Linked DNA regions of Homo sapiens: all the other regions are linked to region 2. Evidence: promoter capture Hi-C in human tissues and cell types (Jung and others, 2019). All regions are on one chromosome and are shown on one strand. The core of a region is centred on a gene start or on the middle of the fragment in contact, and the rest is flanking DNA. Distances in the headings are between cores, read along the strand shown.

What was found. Contacts are between HindIII fragments. The study calls those that stand out against the background at their distance.
Region 1: a fragment that was not itself captured here is called in contact with the fragment with the promoter of LRRTM3 in region 2 in 2 of the 25 tissues and cell types used here (hippocampus and mesenchymal stem cells).
Region 3: a contact is called between a fragment that was not itself captured here and the fragment with the promoter of LRRTM3 in region 2, in 1 of the 25 tissues and cell types used here (hippocampus).
Region 4: a fragment that was not itself captured here is called in contact with the fragment with the promoter of LRRTM3 in region 2 in 1 of the 25 tissues and cell types used here (dorsolateral prefrontal cortex).

The regions. Positions count from the first base shown.
Region 1 is chr10:66,395,299-66,398,195 of GRCh38, forward strand. All of the region lies in intron 11 of CTNNA3 (catenin alpha 3), which reads right to left. Among named protein-coding and RNA genes, the nearest start is that of CTNNA3-AS1, 320 kb to the left of the region's middle. The HindIII fragment of the contact is 3,372 bases long and covers 1-2,897 here.
Region 2 is chr10:66,924,750-66,927,743 of GRCh38, forward strand. It overlaps LRRTM3 (leucine rich repeat transmembrane neuronal 3), which reads left to right and starts at 1,287. Exons shown (of 3, transcript NM_178011.5): 1 at 1,287-1,838; 2 at 2,172-2,994. The coding sequence starts at 1,835. All of the region lies in intron 7 of CTNNA3 (catenin alpha 3), which reads right to left. The region is part of intron 3 of LOC101928961 (a long non-coding RNA gene); the gene reads right to left. RefSeq lists an enhancer at 674-1,530 and a silencer at 1,150-1,259. The HindIII fragment of the contact is 13,899 bases long and covers 1-2,994 here.
Region 3 is chr10:67,505,532-67,508,821 of GRCh38, forward strand. All of the region lies in intron 5 of CTNNA3 (catenin alpha 3), which reads right to left. Among named protein-coding and RNA genes, the nearest start is that of MIR7151, 100 kb to the left of the region's middle. The HindIII fragment of the contact is 5,109 bases long and covers 1-3,290 here.
Region 4 is chr10:66,210,167-66,213,088 of GRCh38, forward strand. The region is part of intron 13 of CTNNA3 (catenin alpha 3); the gene reads right to left. Among named protein-coding and RNA genes, the nearest start is that of CTNNA3-AS1, 130 kb to the left of the region's middle. The HindIII fragment of the contact is 6,515 bases long and covers 1-2,922 here.

The DNA of each region.
Region 1 (2,897 bases), core at 54-2,553, 530 kb before region 2:
ATTTGTAATTGCTTCAAGGAAACCATAACTAAAAACTTGAATTTTCCACAGGTATGACAAAGGAGGAGTCCATGAGGTTAAAAGCAAACACAAGGTATGACTTTTTCCATGCCCAAATCGGTATCATTCACAAAATATTCTGTATCACCCTGATTGTTTTTATCATATGTAAATTGCTATAAAACTACATGGAATTGGACAACAAATTACAAAGACTAATAAAAAAATACAAGGCAAAAAGATATGGCTTAAAAGGTACCATGTTTTCAGGAATTCAATGTGGTTCATCTTACCTCAGATTTCCAAAAAGTCTGTACTTATTATTTACCTTTCCATGAAGTTTCTCCATGAACCTGCCACAAAGCTTTCTAGAAGATTCTCTAACAGATCCTAATCATAGCCATTCTGTAACCTCTGAACAAGATCCCAATTTCACCAGCATCAGTAATTGTTCTCTTAAGAGTTCTCTATTTCTTGATACTCTCTGTAATTTTTATTTATTTATTTATATTGTTTCAGATTCAGGGGTTTCATGTGCAGGTTTGTGTAATGGTGAGGTTTGGGCTCCTAGCATACCCATCACCCACGTAGCAAAAATGGTACCCAATAGGTAATTTTTCAATTCTTGCCCCACTCCTACCCTTCCCCCTTCTGGAGTTTGCGTTGTGTGTTATTTCCATCTTCATGTCTACATGTACCCATTGTTTAGTTCCCACTTGTAAGTGAGAACTTGTGGTACTTGATTTTCTGTTTCTCAGTTATTTCACTTAGATTAATGCCCTCCAGCAACATTTATATTGCTGGAAAAATATATGATTTCATTCTTTTTAATGGCTGCATAGTATTCCATGCATATACCATATTTTCTCTATCCAATCAAATAATAGAATACAAAGATATGTATTTATATACTATTAGCTTTCTAATTTAACTCTGAAAGCATATGCAGGAGCCAAAATCTTATTGAACTGAATAAACTATACTTATTTAGATATTAAAAGAGGGATACTAAAATTCCCTTTTAGTTATATTGAACCAGTTTTATCCTAATACATGGAATGTAATCAGGCAAAATAATTAATGATGTAGTTTACTAAACTTAATTTTAAAAAGTATTGAAATAACTTAGTACAATTTTCAAGGATTAAAATGTTAAGAGAGTAATTATATTTTCGCCTCAATTATAAATTGGGCATCCACATGAAAGTGACACCTTAGGCTTCTGACATGTATTAAAACCTTGTAAATGAACTCAGTTTACAGCAGATCTAGAAATGTTTATGAGTAATTTAACCACAGCTTCCCAACAATTCATTGGAATAGTTATTAAGCATTTTAAAGAAATGAGTTTATGGATGGGTAGAGTTAGATCAGGAAATAATAGTTCCCAAATTATCACCCTCAAGCAATTCCATTTCTAGTAAATAGTCCCCAAATTACCATCCTCAAAGAAATTCCATTTCTAATAAAGAAGATGCTTTTCTATGCACACATAAGTTTACAGATTCATGTCAAAATAAAATTTAAACCACAGCTACTGATTGAAGTGAAACAATGATTTTAATTTATAATGCAAACTAACCATTGGTAAACACAAATAATAACTTTATTTAATAGAATATAACAAACCAATATAAGCTTTTCACTTATAAAGTAATTAAATTACATAAAAAGATGCTTATGACATAATTTTAAGTGAAAAAAATCAGGCTATGTATCTATTAAATAGGACCCTCATTTAAAATTCATATATTTATTTCTCTACAATATAGCATATAATTACATACATTTTAAGAAAAATATATGGAAGGAAATTTCCAAACTCCTAATTGTAGTTTTCAATAAATAGTGGCATTATGAGTAGTTTTTATTTTTTAAAGCATTGATATATTTTCCATAAAATAATATTGCATGCAGTAATATACATGCATTACTATTGTAAGATACTATTAAAATTATACTCTATCCTTGATTAGCCATTGTTATTAAACAGAGAACTCTTATAGCTAAGGCTTAGGGAACTAAGCAAACTACCATTTATTAACATTTATATATTGCTGAAGTAAATATAACATTGATACCCACAGATAAAGCTTAACATCCTTAGTTCTTCCAGTATTGTTTTCCTCTCTCTCTTTGCCCACCAAATGATAGTAATTCCAAACTAATATTTTCTATTTAATTAGTACTCATATATATATTCACATGGTATATTCATTCATTCAATATCTCTTTCATTGAATAATGATATATTCATTTTAATGAGTATTTGCAGAGTTCCTACTACAAGGTATTTTGTGAGGTGTAGAGAAATTTCAAGATAAATAACTCACTGTCTTTGCTTTAAAAGAACTCACAGTCTAGTCGTAGAAATAAGCAACTAAAGAAATGACTCCAAGGAACATGATAAATGCCATAATGTACATGGGTAAACAATGCTAGACCATTTATTTTTCCAATGACATACTTACTTTTTCCACATGTGTACATCATTGCATTATGTACCGTGAGTTGTCCCACTGGGATCAGACTGATCACAATGTGTATATCTTGGTCTTTATGAAAATAATTTTTTAAAAGTTTATTGTGTATTTACAAGTTCCTGGGTGATTGTGGGAGTAGGGGTGGGGCAATTTTCCCATCAAAATAATAAGTATATGTTTAATAGGCATTGCTGACAACAGCTATTAAGAGTTTGAAGACAAGTAATTGACTTACTGTGAGAGTTATTACTAGAGTAATATTTATATAAAAGATATTTTAGTAAGAGAGTTTTATGTTACATAACCAATTTACAAATATTATTTTATCACATGGCTTATTGTTTATATTCTCTTTCTTTTCTTTGCACATTTTAAGTATTTTCAGTTGGCTCTTTCACAACTTGCAAAGTACAA
Region 2 (2,994 bases), core at 37-2,536:
CTGTTCTAAGTAACATACAGATATTAAAATGACTTAATTCTCAAAACATGAAGTGAGTTTTTGTTTTTATGCCCGTTTTGCAGATGAGAAAACTGAGGCATAGGGAAGGTAAGTAACGCGCTTAAGGTTACATAGCTGGTAAATTGTAGCCAGGAGTTGGAATCTAGGTGCCAAAATCTATGCTGTTAATCACTAAACTACGCTGCCTTAGTTTTTATACTTCTTTAGGAACCTCAGACCAAAAGAAATTTAGGCAATTCTAATAGAACAAGCAAGAATTTGCTAATCACAGCTTCCTTGCCCCAATCCTTTAATCGGCTTCATTTTCACTGACTTCTTTTTTAAATGAAGATAACAATGTTGTTGAACAGGATCATCTAGTGGTTAGTGGTTCGGCATAAGAATGACTCGCTTCTGAAGCTCAGCTCTAGCACTCGCTTGCTGTATGACCTTGAGAAAGTTACCTCCCCAAGTCTGTTTCCTCATCTTTAAAAGAGAGGTTATAATAGGACCCACATCATACTATTGTTTAAAGAGAAAACAACGTAGCCCATTTAAAGCACTTAGAAAGTGCTCCATAAATATTATTAGTGTAATAAATAGCAGCAACATCAATAAAGTATGAACCAAATGATCTCTTGATTCGTATCCTAACACTAAAAATGGTTTATTTCCCTTCTAATTAAAAGAGAATTACAACAACCAAAACAACAAACGAAACTATAGCCATAAAATCAATTATATCGTCTGTGAGAAAACCGGAAAGGCTATTGGACACATTAATTCACTTGTCATCAGTCATCCCCTCTATTCCAAAATGTTTGTGTTCTAACATCCTGAGACACCTTGCATAATATAATCACTGTGACTCCAAGAGGTCAAATGGGCAGGCAGTTAATGCTTCTCTGTGAAAAGCTCAATAATTCATTTTATAAATTTCAGTTTAAAGCCTGCGTTGAGGTTAAGAAAAATTGACGTTCGGTCTGTGAACTTAATGTCAAGCTCCAGAAAAACTCTGGGCAGCACATGTTTAGCAATTAAGTGGACACAGACAATAAAGACGTTGCCAAATTGTAAAACAAGACTTGGAAATCACAGAAAATGTTGCTAGTTATTGATCACGGTGACCATTCAGTTCCTACTGAGCCACCCAAAAGAATCATTCATTTTCCAGCAGAGAGCCTGCTCATTTGCAAGATAAAAGAGAGACATTTCTGCACATGCCCATAATGTTCTTCACCACTGGGGGCAGCTTTACATAAGACTGCATTCACTGAAACCAAAGCAACAGTCCGAGCAGCTTTCAGAATGACAGTCTGCAGAAGTGAGCTGAGCGTGTGCGCGGTACGGGGCTCTCCTGCCTTCTGGGCTCCAACGCAGCTCTGTGGCTGAACTGGGTGCTCATCACGGGAACTGCTGGGGTATGGAATACAGATGTGGCAGCTCAGGTAGCCCCAAATTGCCTGGAAGAATACATCATGTTTTTCGATAAGAAGAAATTGTAGGATCCAGTTTTTTTTTTAACCGCCCCCTCCCCACCCCCCAAAAAACTGTAAAGATGCAAAAACGTAATATCCATGAAGATCCTATTACCTAGGAAGATTTTGATGTTTTGCTGCGAATGCGGTGTTGGGATTTATTTGTTCTTGGAGTGTTCTGCGTGGCTGGCAAAGAATAATGTTCCAAAATCGGTCCATCTCCCAAGGGGTCCAATTTTTCTTCCTGGGTGTCAGCGAGCCCTGACTCACTACAGTGCAGCTGACAGGGGCTGTCATGCAACTGGCCCCTAAGCCAAAGCAAAAGACCTAAGGACGACCTTTGAACAATACAAAGGATGGGTATGTTTTGTCATTTTTCTTCTTTCCTTCTTAAAAACAAAAAACAAAAAACCTCTAGTGTGTGTAATAATTCTGCCTTAATTATTTTAGAGATTACCTTGCTCTGCTCTAAGACTATGAATTTATTTGCTTAGTGGCATGTTTCCTTGTTTAACTATTTAAAAAAACAAAACACTAAAGACAATTCTCTTTAATTACAAAGAGATAATATGTGATGTTAAGTGTTATTTAGATTTAAATTTTTAAAAATGAAAAATATATGCCTATTTTTGCTTGATTAAGGATTAATTCTTTTTTGGGGGGATAACTTTTCTAAGTTGTTTTTATTTCCAGGTTTCAATGTAATTAGGCTACTGAGCGGATCAGCTGTAGCACTGGTTATAGCCCCCACTGTCTTACTGACAATGCTTTCTTCTGCCGAACGAGGATGCCCTAAGGGCTGTAGGTGTGAAGGCAAAATGGTATATTGTGAATCTCAGAAATTACAGGAGATACCCTCAAGTATATCTGCTGGTTGCTTAGGTTTGTCCCTTCGCTATAACAGCCTTCAAAAACTTAAGTATAATCAATTTAAAGGGCTCAACCAGCTCACCTGGCTATACCTTGACCATAACCATATCAGCAATATTGACGAAAATGCTTTTAATGGAATACGCAGACTCAAAGAGCTGATTCTTAGTTCCAATAGAATCTCCTATTTTCTTAACAATACCTTCAGACCTGTGACAAATTTACGGAACTTGGATCTGTCCTATAATCAGCTGCATTCTCTGGGATCTGAACAGTTTCGGGGCTTGCGGAAGCTGCTGAGTTTACATTTACGGTCTAACTCCCTGAGAACCATCCCTGTGCGAATATTCCAAGACTGCCGCAACCTGGAACTTTTGGACCTGGGATATAACCGGATCCGAAGTTTAGCCAGGAATGTCTTTGCTGGCATGATCAGACTCAAAGAACTTCACCTGGAGCACAATCAATTTTCCAAGCTCAACCTGGCCCTTTTTCCAAGGTTGGTCAGCCTTCAGAACCTTTACTTGCAGTGGAATAAAATCAGTGTCATAGGACAGACCATGTCCTGGACCTGGAGCTCCTTACAAAGGCTTGATTTATCAGGCAATGAGATCGAAGCTTTCAGTGGACCCAGTGTTTTCCAGTG
Region 3 (3,290 bases), core at 367-2,866, 580 kb after region 2:
ATGAGAGGGAGGAAACATTATAATTTCTTCATTAAGCAAACAGTAAGGTTAAAACAAAATATGTAACTTAAACTTCAAAGCACAAAAATAATTCTTCAAAATATTCTAAACATTTTCATCCAATAAGTACTCCGTATCAACAATCAGCACCTCACTTGGAAAATCAGTCACAAGTCAGCTGTTAATGCTGTGTGGATGCAACCACAGATCATTACCTACTTAATTGTGTATACATCTAATAGGCTCATACAGCTCTTTTAGAACAAAGGTTTTATAATGGAGTAGATGATAAATACTGAACTGTAGTGCTACCAGGTGCTATACTAATATGAGCAGAATTTATATAGAGAATTTTAGCCTGTATTAATGCTGTAACTAAAATAGAAAAAAATGATTTAAAATCAGGTTTGTAATAATACAGTTAAAAAAGAAATGCAATATTACAAGTTCATATTGTGGCATCTTGCTAAAATCCCATAAGTGATACTAAAAATGTTAAGCTAAATATAGTTTATCTGGTCAATGAATGCAACTGTCAGTTGACCACAGAAGAGAGAAAAGCAATTTACATTGTAAAAATTTAAAGACATCCAATCTAAAATTTAATGTTGACTCTGAAGAATATCAATTAATTTATATTTTCTGTCATTTGAAACTAGAGTGTATGAAAGTAAACCTGTACATACACATACTCTTCTAAATCATTGAACAAAATATGGAGCAAACCAGCAACACTACTCCATCTTCTGGTGACATTTTCCCTCACCTAGATGTATTTCAGTGTAAGTGTTTCTACTGCTGTCACATTTGGAGCATGAGATAGGGTATAAAAGATGATTAGCTTCTTCCTAAATAGCAAACATGAAATTGTCCAAACATGATAGTTTAGAGAGCAAAAATAAGTACGCCTTAAAAAAAATAACAGAACAAACTAAACTTCTCATTACATATTAAATTAGCCCTCAGGTAATCAGCCCCTAACAAACAGCTTAACATCTACAAAAGGCTGCATGACTGGTGTGTGCCTGTTTAAAGCTCTGCTGTAAGCTGAACTGTTGGTCTCAGCTAGGCATCCTCAACATTTCCTTTGAATTTTAGCCAACAGTGCCCTAGGCATGCTCCTAGCACTACTATTAACAAAACAGCTGTAGTTGAAGCAGTAGTCTTTTTGCCTGACAAGGACACCGTAACAGTCATTGTGATGTCTTCTGATTGTGAACACAGGTAGAGATGTACAGCTTGGATACAAAAATTTAATATGAGTGTATTTGAGATTATAATTTTTACTAGTTGTATAGTAAATATGTGACTAAGCTTGCTTTTCTGAAACAAATGCTGCTGAGTCAATACCAGACAGTCCCATGATCAGTTTGGCCAAGTCACAGTGGACAACCCAGAGCTAAAGTATGACATTTTTACTCTTCTTCAGCTCCCTGTACCTTAGTCTCAGCTGTTCCCATATTCAGTCTCTTTAGCTAGACTAACAAAAAAAGAATGGAGACTCAAATAAAACCAGAAATAAAAGAGGAAACATTAGAAGTGATACCACAGAAATACAAAGAATTAAAAAAGACTCCTGTGAACTATTATATGGCAAGAAATTGGATAACTTAGAAGAAATGGATAAATTCCTAGACACATAAAAACTACCAAGATAAAATCATGAAGAAATGGAAAATCTGAATAGACCAATAATGAGTAAGAAAATTAAATCAAGGCCGGGTGCAGTGGCTCACGCCTGTAATCCCAGCACTTTGGGAGGCCGAGGCAGGTGGATCACGACGTCAGCAGTTCAAGACTAGCCTGGCCAACATGGTGAAGCCCAGTCTCTACTAAAAATACAAAAATTAGCTAGGCATGGTGGCACACGCCTGTAATCCCAGCTACTCAGGAGGCTGAGGCAGGAGAATTGCTTGAACCAGGACCCAGGAGGCAGAGGTTTCAGTGAACTGAGATCATGTCACTGCACTTCCAGCCTGGGCTACAAAGGGAAACTCCATCTCAAAAAAAAAAGGAAAGAAACAAAGAAAAAAAAAAAGAAAATTAAATCAATAATTAAAAAGTCTCATCAAAGGAAAGCCCAGGACCTGATGACTTCACTGCTGAATTCAACTAAAATTTAAAGAACTAATACCAATTCTCAAACTCCTCCAAAAAACTGAAGAGGAAGGAATACTACAAACTCATTTTATGAGGCCAACATTACCTGACACCAAAGCCAGACAAGGAGGCTACAAGAAAAGAAAATTACAGGCCAATATTCCTGATGCACAAACATGCAAAACTCCTCAACAAAATACTAACAAGCTTTAAAAGACCATTCACCATGATCAAGTGGTACACCACATTAACAGAATGGAGAACAAAAATCATATAAACAACTCAATAGATGCAGAGAAAGAATTTAACAAAATTCAACATGCTTTCATGATAAAAACCTCTCAACAAATTAGATATAGAAGGAATGTATTTCCTTTTTTTGTTGTTTGTTTGTTTGTTTGTGATGGAGTCTTGCTCTATCACCCAGGCTGGAGTACAGTGGCGCAATTGTAGCTCATTACAACCTCCACCTCCCAGGTTCAAGCAGTTCTCCTTCCTCATACTCCCGAATAGCTGGGATTACAGGCCCACACCACCACACCTGCTAATTTTTGTATTTTATCAGAAACAGGGTTTTGCCATGTTGGCCAGGCTGGTCTCAGACTCCTGACCTCAAGTGATCCACCCACCTCAGCCTCCCAAAGTGCTGGGATTACAGGTGTGAGCCACCGTGCCTAGCAGAAGGAATGTATTTCAACACAATAAAGGCCGTATTTCACAAGCCCATAGTTAGTGTTATGCTCAATAGTGAAAAGTTGCCAAAAATACACAATGTGGAAAAAATAGTCTCTTCAATAAGTGGGGTTGGGAAAATTGAATATCCACATACCAAAAAACAAATTTATTTTTATCCTACATCACAAACAAAATTTAACTCAAAATGGATTAAAGCTGTAAACATAAGCCCTGAAACCATAAAACTACTATAAGAAAACAAAGGGGAAATGCTCTATGACATTAGTTTTCACAATTTTTTTAAATATGATGCCATAAGTACCAGCAACAAAGGCAAAAATAAATAAGTGAAATTATATCAAACTAAAAAGTTTCTGCACAGAAATGGAAATAATCAACAAAATGAAATAGTAACCTATGGAATGAAATAAAATGTTTGCAGACCATACATCCAATAAGAGGTTAGTATTGAAAATCTATAAGGAAGTCATTTAACTCAAAAGCAAAAAAGAAAA
Region 4 (2,922 bases), core at 61-2,560, 710 kb before region 2:
TGATAAGGAATCTTTAGGCATTAAAAATAAACTGTATCATATATGGGAAGAAATGGCTTAGGTATGCCAAGAAGCAGGACCTCAACACACAGCTGATATGGGGAAAAAATGGCAATGATAGTGGAACCACTTCCTATAATTTACTAAGGCAAACGAGATAACAAAAGCATCTGATTTAGAGTCTTTGCTTACTCTAAATAATTGCACATCAATTGAGTCCAGGGTTCTTGCATTGAGAAATAAGGGAGTACTACTTTTTAATCCTGACAGGAAAATTAAAAGGCCCAAGTTATTACATAATGTAAATAATGTATTAGAGTTAGCAATGAGAAAGACTTCCTTTATAGCAAGGCTTATTTCATAATTCCAGGGTAAATCTATTGTTTCGATAAGATTTTTTTTCAATTGATACATAAATAAATGTATACATTTAGGTACACTCTTACTTTTACAGAAATTTAAATTTATGTTAACGTACCACTTAAAATTGCATTAAATAAAATAGCATAATATGTGTTTTTGTAATGTAAGAAAGATATCAGTGTATGCTAAAATATATAAAATCCGATGCTAAGCAAATGGAGTAAACAACAAAAAACAACATAGCCATATAAAGTTTACAAAATAATTCACATGTAGTTTACAATTGTGTTTAGAACGTGATCTACTGAAAATGATAGAATTATTTATAGCATCTCTTTGGGGCCTAGGCCACCTTGTACATATAGAAAGCCACAGTTCTTGGGTGGCTGACATACTCTGAAATGTTCTCAGATTTTAAATTGTAGAAACAACACTTCCCATAAACAGAGAGCTCTCTGGGGGCATCTATAGGACTAAGTGGTAATTCTCAGGGAAGCAACGTTTTGGGAACATTCCATCATACTGTACCATTAATGAATTGCCTGATTTATGACCAATGTAAATTTGGAGCTAGCTACCTTCCCAGAATGCTTCCAAACGGCAGCACAGTTGCAACAGTAACACCATCAACACAGGAAAAGACAGCAGCCTGAGGAATTCACAAATGGACATTTTGGCCAAGGCGTGAACATATAATGGATGCAGAGTTCCAAAGGAGGTGCTAGACTTCAAGCAGCACATAAAAACTGAAATACTACATATGAGTAATGTTACACTTCAACCTTTGTCACACAAAAGCTCTAAAGGGCTCCAGATATGGGGACAGCAGATATGGGCAGCATCCTTGAAGCAATTATTTTAGAGAGAGCTCTGCTGTGAGTATAACAAAAAAGGAAGACTGGGAAGCAGTTCCCTAACCCTGAACTAAGATTTCTCTGCAAGTACAAAAAAAGCTTGAATGAGCTACCTGCAGTTGGGGGATGCTTTGGCCTGGAGCCTAATTCACATCTGAAAAAGCTAAAGAGGCCAGTGAGTACCGAGTACAAGCCTGTGTTTGAGTTTAAAAGCAACCCCTTCACCTAGATATTGAAAGGGGATGAATTCCAGAAGCCAACCCTAATATCTGCAGTAGAATCTTCAGTGTGGAGCCATTTAAAAACAGGCTGGCCCAAGAGGGCAACATGCCCGGATAAGAGTTCCTGGTAGTAAGAGGTGGAGTTTACTGTGGGAGTCCACGATGATGGGGAACACCAAACACCAGCCAATTCCACAACAGAGTTGCAATCGGAGGGACCCAACAGGCAAGTTTTTCTTCAAAAATCCTTCTCTCATGTCTACTGTCCCTCTCTATGGATGTGATTATGTGGTTCAAGAATTGTTGAACCAATTTCAGATTATAACTTTTGTGCATGTCTAACATTTCCTTTGCAGTCATAGCAACTATTGTTTTTGGGTTTTTTTTTTTTTTTTTTTTTTTTGAGACAGAGTCTCACTCTTTTCTCCAGACTGGAATGCAGTGGCGCGATCTCAGCTCGTTGCAACCTCTGCATCCCAAGTTCAGGCAATTCTCCTGTCTCAGCCTCCTGAGTAGCTAGGGTTGTAGGCACCCGCCACCACGCCTGGCTAATTTTTGTATTTTTAGTACAGACGGGGTTTCACCATATTGGTCAGGCTGATCTCAAACTCCTGACCTTACGTGATCCACCCACCTCGGCCTCCCAAAGTGCTGGGTTTACAGGCTTGAGCCAATGCGCCCAGCCAGCAACTATTGTTTCTTAATGCCTCAGCCTAATAATACTTATAGTAATCTGTTATACATGTGTGCTTTAAGGATTTTAAAACCTCTCCATTTCTTAGCCAGAACCTAAATATTCAGGTTACTTTGCTGTTGTTAATTTTTTAAACATTTCTTATTAGCATCCCTAGAAGTTTTATTTCTATTTTAACTTTCTTATTATTTTGGCTAATAAATATAATTACTTTTATATTTCGGAGTTGTGTTTCTGCTTAATCTTTTTTTTGATGCTTTTGAAGAGGGTGCAACAAAGTAATTGAGGGCAAATGCTTTCAGTAGTGTGCTGTTGTAAAAGATTTTTAATTTAGTATTTGAATTATGTATTAATATCATTTCAGTGTAGCTTTCTTTCAGGAAAATATTAAGAGATAGCTAAAAATAAGAAATGTCCTTTTTTGGGCAAGCATGGTGGCTCACACCTATAATCCCAGCACTTTGGGAGGCCAAGGTGGGCAGATTACTTGAGGCCAGGAGTTTGAGACCAGCCTGGCCAACATGGCGAAACCCCATCTCTACTAAAACTACAAAAATTAGTAGTTTTAGTAGCACATGCCTGTAATCCCAGCTATGCGGGAGGCTGAGGCATGAGAATCCTTTGAACCTGGGAGGCAGAGGTTGGAGGCGGAGGTTGCAGTGAGCCAAGATCATGCCACTGCACTAGAGCCTAGGTGGTAGAGAGACTCTTGTCTCCAAAAAGAAAGAAAGAAATGTCCTTTTTGCCCCATGTTACACAAATTTGTTGTATTAAGACATATTAATGTATT